5 separate regions of the Homo sapiens genome follow, and all the other regions are linked to region 1. The links are contacts of gene promoters, found by promoter capture Hi-C in human tissues and cell types (Jung and others, 2019). All regions are on one chromosome and are shown on one strand. The core of a region is centred on a gene start or on the middle of the fragment in contact, and the rest is flanking DNA. Distances in the headings are between cores, read along the strand shown.

Evidence for each region. Contacts are between HindIII fragments. The study calls those that stand out against the background at their distance.
Region 2: the fragment with the promoter of UBTF here is called in contact with the fragment with the promoter of DBF4B in region 1 in 1 of the 25 tissues and cell types used here (dorsolateral prefrontal cortex).
Region 3: the fragment with the promoter of PLCD3 here is called in contact with the fragment with the promoter of DBF4B in region 1 in 1 of the 25 tissues and cell types used here (IMR-90 fibroblasts).
Region 4: a fragment that was not itself captured here is called in contact with the fragment with the promoter of DBF4B in region 1 in 2 of the 25 tissues and cell types used here (bladder and pancreas).
Region 5: a fragment that was not itself captured here is called in contact with the fragment with the promoter of DBF4B in region 1 in 1 of the 25 tissues and cell types used here (adrenal gland).

The regions. Positions count from the first base shown.
Region 1 is chr17:44,707,335-44,709,985 of GRCh38, reverse strand. It overlaps DBF4B (DBF4B-CDC7 kinase regulatory subunit), which reads right to left and starts at 1,321. Exons shown (of 14, transcript NM_145663.3): 1 at 1,147-1,321; 2 at 620-682. The coding sequence starts at 1,165. RefSeq lists enhancers at 487-1,000, 1,001-1,515. The HindIII fragment of the contact is 13,873 bases long and covers 1-2,651 here.
Region 2 is chr17:44,218,367-44,221,017 of GRCh38, reverse strand. It overlaps UBTF (upstream binding transcription factor), which reads left to right and starts at 1,343. Exons shown (of 21, transcript NM_014233.4): 1 at 1,343-1,573. All of the region lies in intron 1 of ATXN7L3-AS1 (ATXN7L3 antisense RNA 1), which reads right to left. RefSeq lists silencers at 1-126, 637-1,326, 1,453-1,617, 1,377-2,396, 2,447-2,616. The HindIII fragment of the contact is 22,653 bases long and covers 1-2,651 here.
Region 3 is chr17:45,131,178-45,133,828 of GRCh38, reverse strand. It overlaps PLCD3 (phospholipase C delta 3), which reads left to right and starts at 1,314. Exons shown (of 15, transcript NM_133373.5): 1 at 1,314-1,581. The coding sequence starts at 1,419. It also overlaps a transcript of ACBD4 not described here. RefSeq lists an enhancer at 521-590 and silencers at 1,061-1,280, 1,381-1,510. The HindIII fragment of the contact is 27,952 bases long and covers 1-2,651 here.
Region 4 is chr17:44,432,354-44,435,004 of GRCh38, reverse strand. The region is part of intron 5 of GPATCH8 (G-patch domain containing 8); the gene reads left to right. Among named protein-coding and RNA genes, the nearest start is that of ITGA2B, 44 kb to the right of the region's middle. The HindIII fragment of the contact is 4,000 bases long and covers 1-2,651 here.
Region 5 is chr17:44,450,032-44,452,682 of GRCh38, reverse strand. The region is part of intron 3 of GPATCH8 (G-patch domain containing 8); the gene reads left to right. Among named protein-coding and RNA genes, the nearest start is that of GPATCH8, 52 kb to the left of the region's middle. The HindIII fragment of the contact is 3,187 bases long and covers 1-2,651 here.

The sequences.
Region 1 (2,651 bases), core at 72-2,571:
TAGCCAGGATGGTCTCAATCTCCTGACCTCGTGATCCGCCCGCCTTGGCCTCCCAAAGTGCTGGGATTACAGGCGTGAGCAGCCGCGCCCGGCCAACTAGATGATATTAACTAAAGGGGCAGTACGGAGGGAAGTGCCATGTGCTAAAATACTTACCTAATTAGGTAGCAGTGTTTAACTTAAGGATTTTATTGTAAACAACTATGAATGTATTAATTTATATATTTAATAAGTCACTCTATCCTGACTCCACATCTGTCTGTTAATCTTGTTCATAATATGACTCTTACTTGACCTTTATCATGAATCCCAAAACGGTCTATGATGCTGCGTCCATACACACACACACATAAAACCACTAAGTGGGCCTGGTGAAGTGGCTCACACCTGTAATCCCAGCATTTTGGGAGGCCTAGGCAGGAGAACTGCTTGAGGCCAGGAGTTTGAGACCAGCTTGGCCAACACAGCAAGACCCCATCCCAATAAATAAAATGAATAAATAAGTACATAAAAACACTGAGTGATCGAAAACTCCAACAGGGGGAACATTTTTCGGTCTTCTCCAAGAGACCCTGGGGCAATTTTCACCTCACGTCCCTAGTTCTGTCCTGTTACCCACCTAGGTCCGGGGCCCGGAGCCTACTCTCAGCCATGGAACTCTCCAGCTCGAGGCAATCGTCTCCTGAGAAAGGACATAACAGCAACTCAACCATCTTCACCAACCCTTGGAACTTCCATGCCTCCCGCCCACTACTGTCTCCCAAAACGCGCACAGAAACGCGACTCCTGGGAACAGCAAGACTCAACTCCATTCCGACCTACATCCCGCGACTCCCGCCAGGCTCTTGCCCCTCATGCCCTCCGCCTCCTTTCAGACTCCGTTCAGTCAACGGCCGTGACCTCTTGGCCACCTCCTGTCCATCTCAATCTCCATACATCCCTCCAGGCTGTTGTCCCCTACGTTCCTCTGCCACCTTCATTCCTCGGTCCCCTCAACTCCTGTGGCTCCTTCCCGGCCCCTATACCCTCCTCAGCTTCGGCACCTACCCGCTGGTCACTTCCTAAGCCCCCTCCACGACTCCGCACCTCGCCTCAGCTATTAACGACCCCTTCCGCCTTTCTTTCTCCCCTTCCCGGCATCCGTACCCTTTCCCGGTTCGCTCATCAAATGCCGGCTCCTTCTCGGCCTCCGTACTCCTTCCTCAGAGGCCTCCGTATTACATTCGCGAGCTCCATGAGCTCTTCCCGATTCCACAGTCCTGGTTATCTCAGGGCAGCTACAGCATCAATCTCTTGGCGTTTTCGGCCGCGGCTTCAGTTTAAATTTCCTGCCGGCTCCACCCCTAAAAGAACGCCGTAGCTGCGAGATCCGCCCTACGGTGTCCTTGGAAGGACAATATTAGTTTCGCGATTCCTCTTTCCGTTCCCCCACCGCCTACGTCTTCTCAAACCGTCTCTTCATTTCTTGGCTCTTCACTGGCTAGACGGCTTTGCCCCTTAATGGCCCTCAAGTTGAGGACTAGTGGTCGCTTTTTAGTGATTCTTCACACTGAGCTGCATTGAAATTCCTAGAAGTTTGAATACTAAATAACAAAATAAGCCTAACACTTGCAGAGCATTTGCAGTTTACATAAAGATTTCACTTACACATCATTTCATCTTCACATTTTTGTCCCCCTCCCGTTCTTCAATTATTACCTGCCCAACAAAACTTCTCAAAAGACGTATCTTTATCCCTCACTTCCCATCTTTTCTTCAACCCATCTAATTAGACTGCTAATTAGAGATCAAATTTGATCTAATAAGAGATCATTCAGTGGAGAGCTGGGGACCTCCCCACAAAAACTGTACTTATCCAGGTCAACTGTGATTTCCACAGTCTGAAATACTATCCTTATCATATCCAACTTATAGATGGACTATTCCTTCTTTGAAATACTTTCTTCTTTTTGCTTCCATGACTCAGCACTCTACCGTTTTTTTCCCTATCTCAATGGTTCCTCCTCAGTCCCCTTTGCTGGATCCAAAGCCACTGTTCACCTATATATTTTGGAGTATGCCAACGCTTTAGCCCTTATCCCTCTCCCTTATCTCCCTAGGAGATCTCATCCAGCTCCACAGCTTTACAATTCAGCTCTGCCACACCTTCAGATTTTCTGTAGCTCTGACCTGTCTGATCTCCAGACTCACATATTCAAGTGCCTACTGGCTATTTCAATTTGGATGTCTAATAGGCACCTCAGGCTGAACACATTCAAAACAGAACATTTGTTTCGCTGCCCCTGTCAAAAAACCACCTGTTCTCCCCCCAGGTCTTCCCCTCTCAGTAAAATGTTACTGTTTACTCAAATGTCACAATCATTCACCCAGTTGCTCAAACCAAAAACCTAGAAGTTGTCTTTCAGTACTTTCCCTTGTGCCCATCCCCACTCCAAGAAAAAAATCCTACTAACTCTGCCTCCAAAGTACATCTGGAATCAGACCACCACCACCCTAGTTCAAGCTGCTATCATTTCTTGCCTAAAGTACTGCGGTCAATTCTTCACTTCTACTCCCGAGTAGCTTCCTATCTCTCCCCAGTATAATCCATTCTCCATTCAGCAACCAGAGTGATAGTTTTTATATTTATTTATTTTTTTATTGAGAGGGAG
Region 2 (2,651 bases), core at 94-2,593, 490 kb after region 1:
GCCGGGGTGGCCCGGGAGGCGGCGGCGCCGAGGCGGCTCTGACGGGCAAGCGCTCGGAGCGGCGCTGCGCTGCGCCGAGGCGGGCGGGCGGGCGGGCGGAGCGGGGCGGGCGGAGCGCGGCGCGTGGGGCTCGCCATTAGCCGTCGCTCCGCTTCGCCATCTCGGGCTTTGTCTGGCGACTCGCTGCCCCGGCGTCGGCTGCAGCGGAGCTGCGGCTCGACTGTTCGGCCCGCCGTGCTCCCAGGTGCCCCCGGCCTGCGCTCCCATCCACACGCTCGGTAAGTGAGCCCGGGAGCCGCGGATTTCGGGGGAGAGGGGTTGCTACGAGTGGCGGCGGCGCCGATCTTCATGCGCCCGGGCAGGCCTGGAGAACCATGCCGGGCTGGATTGAACCGGCTCCCACAGCGGCCCCTCCGCCGGAGCCCGTCGTTCCCTTGCCGTTTCCGGGGTGTAAAGAGCAACGGGGATTTTTTTTTTTTAATGCAGAGGTTTTAGTTTTCGGGTTTTTTTTTAAGTTTCGTATGTGCCGTTCGGCAAGGAGAGGACCGCGAGGTAGGCACCGAAGCTGGACGCCGCGATCGGCGTGCGTGCGCCCCAAACCAGCGGCCACGCTCCGGGGGATGAGGGTGGGCGCGGACCGCTCGCTCCGGGAGGCGGGAGAGAGCTGGCCTGGAAGCCCTAGTCTGAGCTGGGAGAACTTGGGGGAGAGCTCCGGAGCAGGGCTGTGGGCGCCCCCCGAGCCTCCCCGGACGCCGGGGGCACCTCCGGGCACCCTCTCCGCGGCCGCACCTCGGCCCTCCCTCGCCGGCGAAGCCTGCTAGTTCCCCCGCGGGTCTGGCGAGGTCGCTCTCGGCGCCCGCCCGCCCGCCTAGGCTCCGAGCCCCGCCGCCATCCGGGCGGCTGCGTGTCTCCCTGCCCCGGCCCCCCCCCCCTTCCCCGGCGGCGGCAGCAGCAGCAGCAGCAGCCGCCGCCGCCGCCAGCACCACCACCACCACCCCCCTCCCCTCCTTCCTTCCCTCCGCCTCGGCCGCCCGGGTCCCCCCAGCTCCCGCCCCTCCTCCCAGCTGCCCCCCGCGGAGCCCGCCCGGGCAGGCTGTGGGAGGGAGCGGAGCCGGCGAGGCGGGCGGGCTGGCGCTCGCTCCCCGGGGGTCGGTGTGCGCTCTACGGGGAAGGACGCGCTCGCTGCCCCGCTTCTCCCGCCCCCCCTCCCGCTCCTCCTCCTCCCTTCTCCCTCCTCCTCCCCGCTCCGGCGGCTGAGGCTGCGGCGGCGGCGGGGGGTGTGCGAGCTGAGGCCGGGGCCGGCGGCGGGCGGGCTGCCTGCAGGCGGAGGGCGCTGTGCTTTGTGCTTTTCGCCGCGAGGAGCAGCAGGCAGCAGCCACAGCCGCCGCCGCCGCCGCCGCCGCCACAGCAGCAGCAGCCGCCGCCCCAGCGCCGCCGCCTCGCCCGGAGGAGGAGCCGCTGCCGCCGCGGGAGGGAGCTGCGGCTGTGCCCGGCCGAGCGGGGGAGGGCGCCGCCACTCAGAGCCAGGGAGGGAGCCGCTGGAGCGGGAAGCCCGGAGGCCGCGCTGCGCCGGGTAACCGAGGCGGCTGAGGACGCGCGCTGGGGTCGGGGCCGGACGGCGGGAGCGAACCGCGGGGTGCGGTGGGCGCCCAGCGGGGACCCGAAGCGACCACCGAGCAGGCGACCGGGCGCGAGCAGACCAGGGCACTTGGGAGGACGCCGAGAGCCGGGGGAGGGGAAGGCAGGAAGCGAGGCCTGAGCCGAGCCCCGGCCGCTGGCGGAGGAGCCCGCGCTTCTCGGAGCCGGCAGGCGCAGTTCTCCCCGGCCGCCGGAGGGGGCGGCGGGGCCGGTGAGCGCTGCGCCCCCGCCTCCCGGCCGCCGTCCTCCCGCCCTCTCCTTGGCTCGGCTCCCCGGAGGCCGGGGCGGGGGCGCCGGCGGGGCTGGGCCGCAGGCTCGGGGGAGGAGGCGGCGGTTCCCGCCGCGGTCGCGCCTCTGTGCCGGGCTCCTCCGTGCGCGTCGGGGTGGCTGGGCGGTGGCGGCGCCTCTGGCCGGGGTGGGTGGCTCGGGGGCGGGGGGCAGGCTAGGCCGCTTCTCTCCGGCTGCTTGCCCGCCTGTGCGGGCGGGGACGGCGAAGGGAGCCCGGGAGGGGGGAGCGGCGGGAATCCGGATCCGGTCCCCGGGGGCGGTGCGGCCGCTCCGCTCCGGGGCTGGCGGCGGCTGCGCTGCGTCCGGGTCCCCGCCGGGTTGCGGAGGCGGGGGGAACCGGCCGGGGGGAGGCGGGAGGAGGAGACTGGGGCGCGTGCCCGCTTCCGTGGCCGCGCGCGCCCTTTACCCGCCCTTCCTCTTCCCCCGCCCTCCAGCCTGGGGCCTCCCCGGGGCGGGCGCTCCGAGGAGGAGGAGATTTTTTCTTTTTTTTTTTTTTTGGCTGGGGTTGGGAAGCGGGGCGGAGGGCGGGCGCTCGCTGCACGCGGGAGCTAGGAGCAGGCCCTCGCGTGGCCAGGGGAGGGCGCGCGCCGCGGAGCCGGGCTGCAGGGGCTGGGGGAGGGGGTCACGAGGAAGAGGAGGGGCGCACTCCCATTCCCATAGACCCCTTAAGTCTAATAAGGTCATGGCTGAGTCTCTCAGAGTGTGGACCTGCCCCCTTCTACTCT
Region 3 (2,651 bases), core at 65-2,564, 420 kb before region 1:
CCGGGCGCGGTGGCTCACGCCTGTAATCCCAGCACTTTGGGAGGCCGAGGCGGGCGGATCACGAGGTCAGGAGATCGAGACCATCCCGGCTAAAACGGTGAAACCCCGTCTCTACTAAAAATACAAAAAATTAGCCGGGCGTAGTGGCGGGCGCCTGTAGTCCCAGCTACTTGGGAGGCTGAGGCAGGAGAATGGCGTGAACCCGGGAGGCGGAGCTTGCAGTGAGCCGAGATCCCGCCACTGCACTCCAGCCTGGGCGACGGAGCGAGACTCCGTCTCAAAAAAAAAAAAAAAAAAAAAAAAAAAAAGAAAATTCAGGACCCCAGAGTGGCGTAGGGACCCAAGCCAGTGTGCAGAATCTCTGGGCCTGGGAGATCTGAGGATGGGGTAGAGCAGGGCAAGTAGGTGGCAAATCAGGCCCTGAGCACTAGCCTCTCTGTAGGATGCCACGCCGCTGGCCGCCGCAAAGTGGCGGTGTGCGCCCATGTCTCTGCCGGACCCAGGCCACCGGCCGCAGAAACGCTGCCACCTGGACGTCCCCCACTTCGCGCACGCACTCTGGTGCTTGCATATAAATAGTAAGTGCACACCCGACTCGGCCACCAGAACCTGCACACGGATGCCCACCCACGGGTTGACGTCGCGGACAACTACACCGCGGGTGCCGGGCTGGGGTGCCGGCCTGTCCAAGCCTCGAACCCAGAACCAGTTGCTGGGGACTCCAGGCTCGGCTCCGCCTCACGCTCCCCAGGTCCGTCAGCTCCGAGACTGTGGCTCTCCGAGGGGGCAGCACCTGGCCTGGCACAGGGAGGTTAATCCTATGACGTCACTGCCAACCTCCCCACCCCCATGCCCATCCCTTCGGGTTCGCGCTGCCCCGAGCGGCTCAGCTCCCGGGGTTCTGCCTTCGCTCCCGGCCCTGCGTCCTGTCCCGGCTCTGGTTCCCTGCTGAGGCCTGCGGCGCGACGGGGACGCGGAAGGGAAGGAGGAGGGGGTCCTGCGTCAGCCTCGAGTCAGGGCCCCCGGGAAGGAGAGGGTGTCTGTGCCAGAGGATGGCCCTCGTCCCCGGTGCCGGCTCCCACCCCCAGCCCCGCAGCATGGGGGCTCTAGTCACCCTTGCGGCCAAGATCAGAGGCTCGCCCGGACTAAGGGGAGACGGACTCACGAGCAGGGGCGAGCGCTGAGGCTCCGGGCTTCCAGGCCACCGCCTGGCCCCGCCCTCGCACCGCCCCGGCCCCGCCCCCTTCCCTTCCCGCCCCGCCCCGCCCCACCTCCTGCTGCCTCCTCCGACTCCCTCCCGCGCCGCTAAGTTTCTTCGCTCGCCGCCTCGCTCAGAGCCGGGGCCGGGCCAGAGCGGCGCCCCGCTGCCCTGTCCCCGCGTGCAGACCCCGGGCCCGGCCCCGGCCCCCCGCCAAGCCATGCTGTGCGGCCGCTGGAGGCGTTGCCGCCGCCCGCCCGAGGAGCCCCCGGTGGCCGCCCAGGTCGCAGCCCAAGTCGCGGCGCCGGTCGCTCTCCCGTCCCCGCCGACTCCCTCCGATGGCGGCACCAAGAGGCCCGGGCTGCGGGCGCTGAAGAAGATGGGTCAGTGACGGGCAAGGGGCGGTGGGGTGGGCGCGGACCGTTCCCAGAGGCCCAGTCTGGGGCGCTCCAGGGAGCAGTTCGTGGATTCCCCAGGCTGCACGGGGCTGGGAGGCTATGGCTAGGGGCGGAGGGCCAGCTCCCTCCAGCTGGGGGTCGCACCTGGGGTCATCCGAGGGTCCCGGGGCGAGCCGGGCGCCCAGGGTGTTCTTTGCTTCCCACCAGGGGGCGCTCGCGGGGCGTCTGAAGCGCGAATTCGGGCACGGGGCGCTGGTGGGGTCTCCAAGGAGAATGGAGCGGGAGAGGGAGGCTTGGGGTGTCCCTCGTCCGGCTCCCCAGCAGTATCTAGGTTCTGCCAGGGTGTCTCGGGGTCTTGGCAGCCCTTAGGAAGGATGCGAGTTTGCGGTCGGCCTCCGCAGAAGAGGCTGGCCTCCACAGCAGCCCTCCAAGCCGCGGCCCCACAGAGGCGGCCACAGCCACACTGCTCTGGCAGGACTGGTCTAACAGCCTACGTCCGACAGCCAAGGCTCTCACCTCAGATTTGGGGAAGTCAGTCGTGGAGAAGGAATGTAACTGTGGCTCATTGGAACATCACAGAGGCAGCTGGCACTGGGTGGGTTACACAGGTGGTGTCTTGCAATCTTCCTCGACTTCCTAGGTGGGAGGTGAATCCTCATTTCACAAGTGAGGAAACTGACTCAGAGACGGCAAGGAATTTGCCTATGACCACACAGCCAACAAAGGGCAAAGTGTGACTGGCACCCCGGTGGTGCCCCACCACATGGGCCCTGGTACCCTCTCAGAGTCTGGGAAAAGTGGGACCCGCAGGGCAGTGGAGGGCTTGAATGAGAGGGTGTGTGCGAGAATGTTGTCTGACGTGGAAAGGACCGCGCCACTGAAGTGCTGCGTTGGACCTGCCATTGGTAGAATAGTCAGTGATGGAGAGGCTAGGTGTGGAACTCCGGAACAGAAGGACAAGGCTGCCAGGGACCCCGTGTAGAACTTGGGGCAGAATTCAGGGGTCCTGATTGCCAGTTTTGCCTTCTTGTTACCTCGACTCATTCCACCTGAGC
Region 4 (2,651 bases), core at 109-2,608, 280 kb after region 1:
CAAATTTTGTTGAAAATCATCACTGTTGCTAACAGCATTTGTTTGACATTTGGTGGTAATTAGTAGTAGATCTCAGATTTCTATTACATTCCTATTTATTGGCTCTGTATAAACTATAGAGATAATAATACCTACTTCTAAAGTGTGTTAGAAAGATTACATGAATTAGTGTTTGAAAACACAATGCCTGTTACATAGTAGGTATTCAAGTAGTGGTAGCAGTAAAAATTGTTAAAAGTCCTTTGAGGCCAGACACAATGGCTCACACTTGTAACCCCAACACTTGCAGAGGCCAGACACAGTGGCTCACACTTGTAACCCCAACACTCAGTAGAGACGGGGTTTCACCATGTTGGTCAGGCTGGTCTCGAACTCCTGACCTTGTGATCCACCCGCCTCGGCCTCCCAAAGTGCTGGGATTACAGGCGTGAGCCACCACGCCAAGCCTAATTTTTGTGTTTTTAGTAGAGATGGGGTTTCACCATGTTGGCCAGGCTGGTCTTGAACTCCTTGCCTCAGGTGATCTGCCTGCCACGGCTTCCCAGTTTGCTGGGATTTCAGGCGTAAGTCACCGCGCTTGACCCCCTTTCTTGTTTTTGAACTTAGCTTAGCTATATATTAAATTTTTGTGTGTTTTATTTTATCCAGAACTATAATATAACCAACTCATCTTCTTTTCCTGCCCCTTTTTCTTTCCCCTTTTTCTTCTCCTTTCCTCTCTCTTTATTCACTCTTCAGCCTATTTATACTGACTTTAGCAGTTTTCACCAAACCACTTTATTCAAGGCCACCAAACACTTCTATTTGCTAAATCCAATAAATCATTTATTTATTTATTTATTTTATTATTATTATTAATATTATTATTTTTTTTAAAGACTGAGTCTCACTCTGTTGCCCAGGCTGGAGTACAGTGGTGTGATCTAAGCTCACTGCTCCCGGGTTCAAGTGATTCTCGTGCCTTAGCCTCCGAGTAGCTGGGACTACAGGTATGAGCCACCACGGCCAGCTAATTTTTTTGAATTTTTGGTAGAGATGGGGTTTCACCATGTTGGCCAGGCTGGTCTCGAACTCCTTACCTCACGTGATCTGCCCACCTCGGCCTCCCAAAGTGTGGGGATTACAGGCGTGAGCCACTGCGCCTGGCATACTCTTTCTTCTTTAAAACATTTTCATTACTCTTGGTTTTGAAGAATTTATACTTTCCTAGATTAGTTGCTTCTTATCTGTCTTGCTGCTTCTATGTAGATTCCTTTGTTGGCTGCTGTTTATTCTGCCTGAACTTCAGATATTGGAGTTCCTCAGCTTCAGACCTGGGCCCTCTTTTTCTGGCTACATTCTTTCTCTAGGCACAAGAGTGGTCATGACACCATGTTTCATCATCTTTCACTTGGTTAAATTTTCTCCTTTGGGTTTTAGCTTAAATATTACCTCATTATAGATCTTCCCTAATCAACTCATTTAAATAATTAACCACTCTGCCTTATTCTCTTGCAACAACCTCTCTTACAATTTGTAATTATAAATTTTTATTCACTAATTTATATTCTGCTTTCTGTACTAGTCAGAAAGGGCATTGAGGAGAGAGAGTATGTCTATTTGTCTGCCAGTATATATCCTGCATCCAGCACAGTGTGTGGTGCATAAGTACTCAATAAATATTAGTTGAATGAATAAATATTTTGAAATAGTGAGAAAAGCCAGATTCATTTTATGTACTGTCTGAAATATAAACATTATAAAGAATACATTTTTATTTTTCAAGTAAAAGTTACACTGTCGAGTGAAAAATAAATGAAATACCTCAGTAATTCACAGCCTCATAAGATTATACATAGTATCTTGAGATGCTCTCTCCCTGGTAATAGAATTATTTCTCGGCTGGGTGCGGTGGATCACGGCTGTGCTTTGGGAGGATTGCTTGAGCCCAGGAGTTTGAGAGCAGTCTGGGCAATGTAGCAAGAATCTGTCTCTACAAAAAGAAAAAAGAAAAAAAATAGCTAGGTGTTGGTGGTGCATGCCTATAAATCCCAGCTACTTAGAGAAGCTGAATTGGGAGGATCACTTGGGCCCAGGAGTTGAAGACAGCAGTGACCTATGATCACACCACTGCACTCCAGCCTGGGCAAGAGCAAGAATTACTTTCCCCATCTTATTGATCAAAATATTTACTCCGAAACCCTGTCAACTCTGAACTACACTGTTTCTAAAATCTTAAATGTCCTATTATCTGACCATGGTCTTTTTTCCTTCCTGCTGTCACTCCTTTATTCTCCTATATTTTTTCTTCAACTTCACATGACTTTGGAAGCTTTAGTAACTTAGCTCCTCCTTAATTTGTACTTTTCCCCTCTAGCACCACACACTCATGTTTACCTCTCACAGCACTTTGATTCCAACTCCCTTTCCTCCTAGTCCTTTTGTCATACATACTCACCAAAAGCCTGTCCCGTTAGTACAAAATGCATTACTTGCATTCTTTATTTCTATACCCTTTCTGCCAACCTCACTGGGCCCTCAGAGCTGCCAATTAATCCTCTCATGTGTCATGTCCCTCTTAGTCCTCTCAGCTGTCATTCTCAAACATTGGTACTCAGCCTTCATCTTTCCTTAACTACCCTTGTCGTATCTCTGCCTTCCCGTATGTTTTT
Region 5 (2,651 bases), core at 39-2,538, 260 kb after region 1:
GGTGATGGAAATAAAATAATAGTCTGCTCAAAGAATGTCTGAGGATGGAGATGGAAAACCATTTAGAAAGTTGTCTGGGTATGAGTATAGATAAGGACTTGAAAGAGTAATAGTGGAAATGGAAAGGAAGGAATAACTATGAAGGCTGATAAAACAGGTCAACTATGAAGACAATATATAGTCAGTTTATGCACATGTTTGACTAGCAAGCCCCTATTCACTAGATTTAGTGTTAATCTTTTATAATAGCCATCATTTATTAAGTGTTTACTGAGTGCTTGGACATGGATTTTCTAACTTAAATCCTCTTTGAGGTAGATACTCCCATTTTACCCAAAGAGCATTTTACCAAAAGATCTTTGCCCAAGATCTTTTTTCCTTTTTTTTTTTTTCTTTTTTTTTTTTTTTTTGAGACGGAGTGTTGCTCTGTCACCCAGGCTGGAGTGCAGTGGTGCAGTCTCGGCTCACTGCAACCTCCACCTCCCTGGTTCAAGCAATTCCCCTGCCTCAGCCTCCCAACTAGCTGAGATTATAGGTGCATGCCACCACACCTGACTAATTTTCCTGTATTTTTATTAGAGACGGGGTTTCACTATGTTGGCCAGACTGGTCTCAAACTCCTGACCTCGGGCAATCCGCCCGAATCGGCCTCCCAAAGTGCTGGGATTACAGGCTTAAGCCACCACGCCCAGCCTGCCCAAGATCTTACAGCAGATAAGTGGTAGAATCTTGGTGCCAAAACCTATGCTTTTAACCAATATGCTGTAATGTACCTAAACTGTAGGTGCTAGCTTACTTCCCTATCCTGGAGAGATATGATGGTGGTGAGAAATACCAGTGCCACCGAATTGAAATATACAGTAGTTATTCAGGCCAGAAAAAGTGGAGATAATTCTGAATGTGATATATTCTCGTAGGGCACTTGAAGTGGTCATATATATTCTTCATGATGAGTATAAATTCACTAGAAACTTAAGGCTAAAGTTGAGTGGTAAGAACTTTTGCCAAATATTTAGGGATGGAAATTGGTGTCCAGGGAAAAAGAAAATACTGTAACTTATGTCTCATACTATAATTTCCTCCCTGACTTCTACTTTCTGTTTCTCTCCTGTGGCATTTTAAATATTCAATCTTGTATAATTTTTGTTGATGTGTCTCTTTTACCTAATTCAGTAGACTGTAAATTCCTAAAGGATAGTAATTACTGTGCATTTATGTATTCTCTGTTGCTGTTTTTCTTGTTTTGTATTCTGCATATGTTTATTGCATGCTTAAAAGGTGCCAGATCTGGGTTGGGTGTGGTGGCTCACGACTGTAATCACAGCTCTATGGGAGGACGAGGCAGGTGGATCACTTGAGGCTAGGAGTTCAAGACCAGCCTGGCCAACATGGCGAAACCCTCTCTACCAAAATATACAAAAATTAGCCAGGCATGTTGGTGCACGCCTGTAATCCCAGCTACTTGGAAGGCTGAGGCATGAGAATAGCTTGAACTCAGGAGGCGGAGGTTACAGTGAGCCGCCTGGGTGACAGAGTAAGACTCTGTCTCCAAAGAAAAAGAGAAAAAGAATGTGCCAGATCTGTACTAAGTCTTTAAGAGTGAATAAGATAGAACCTCTGCCCTCCAGAGGTTTATTTCTAATAGGGAAACAAATAATGTAACAAATTTAATACAGTATAATGATTGTTTTAATTGTGAAGTTAAAGGTACAGTGGAAGCTTAATAGAGAATTGAGCAATTTAAGTTATAATTTCAAATTTTTTATAATAATTAACAAGTGAAAAGTCTCAGATTGTGAGAATAAAGAAGCAACCAACTATTTTCTATCTGTGCATCTATACTTGCTGATAGATACATGGAGTACAGGTGTCTGTGAGTTAGTGGAATCTCTTTATTCTTCCATGAGAAGCGTTGGTATTTTAAAGTGGAATGAAATCTGAAAATGATAAGAACATAAAGTAAAAAGTGTTTTATAATAAACATATTTTATTAAAATCTTTCAAAAGTTCATTTAAAATTTACCACCAAAATTCAAAACAATGGCACTTAAAACACTCGGAAAAGAGAACAAAGTGTAATATATTTTTATGTAGTATTTCAAATGTAGTTTATTAGTTTTAAATCCAGTATTTCCTTTCTCACTAAATCTTCCCAAACCAGTAGATAGAAATCCCACTTGGTTTTCTTGTAAATCCCATTTGGTTCAAAAGGAGGGAGCAAAGAATGTAGACCTGAAGTAGGAGTTGGGGCCCGATGATAGCATACGTTGTTGAAATTGAGTGAGTGTGAGACAATAGCAAGTGGTGTGAGTTTTGCTGTGTTTAGAGAAGGTAATTGTTGCCACCTAAGATTATAATCTCAGTGTTGCTGGATCTTCTAAAATTGTTAAAAGCAGCCAGGAATTCAGATTCCTTTTCTGTGAAATGTTCTAATTGATAAATGTTGGCTTGAAGTCTAAAATAATGAAATTAAACAAAACATACCAGGCTGTATTTGAACCGCAAGTTACTACTTTGTGAGCTCATCTGAAATTTCACCTGGGTTCAATTCTAACTCTGCAACTAGTAAGCACTGTGACCTTGCTATACCCTCCATATAGCCATATTTTTACAAGATTTGGGGGTGTCAGGAATTAAATATGGCTATATGT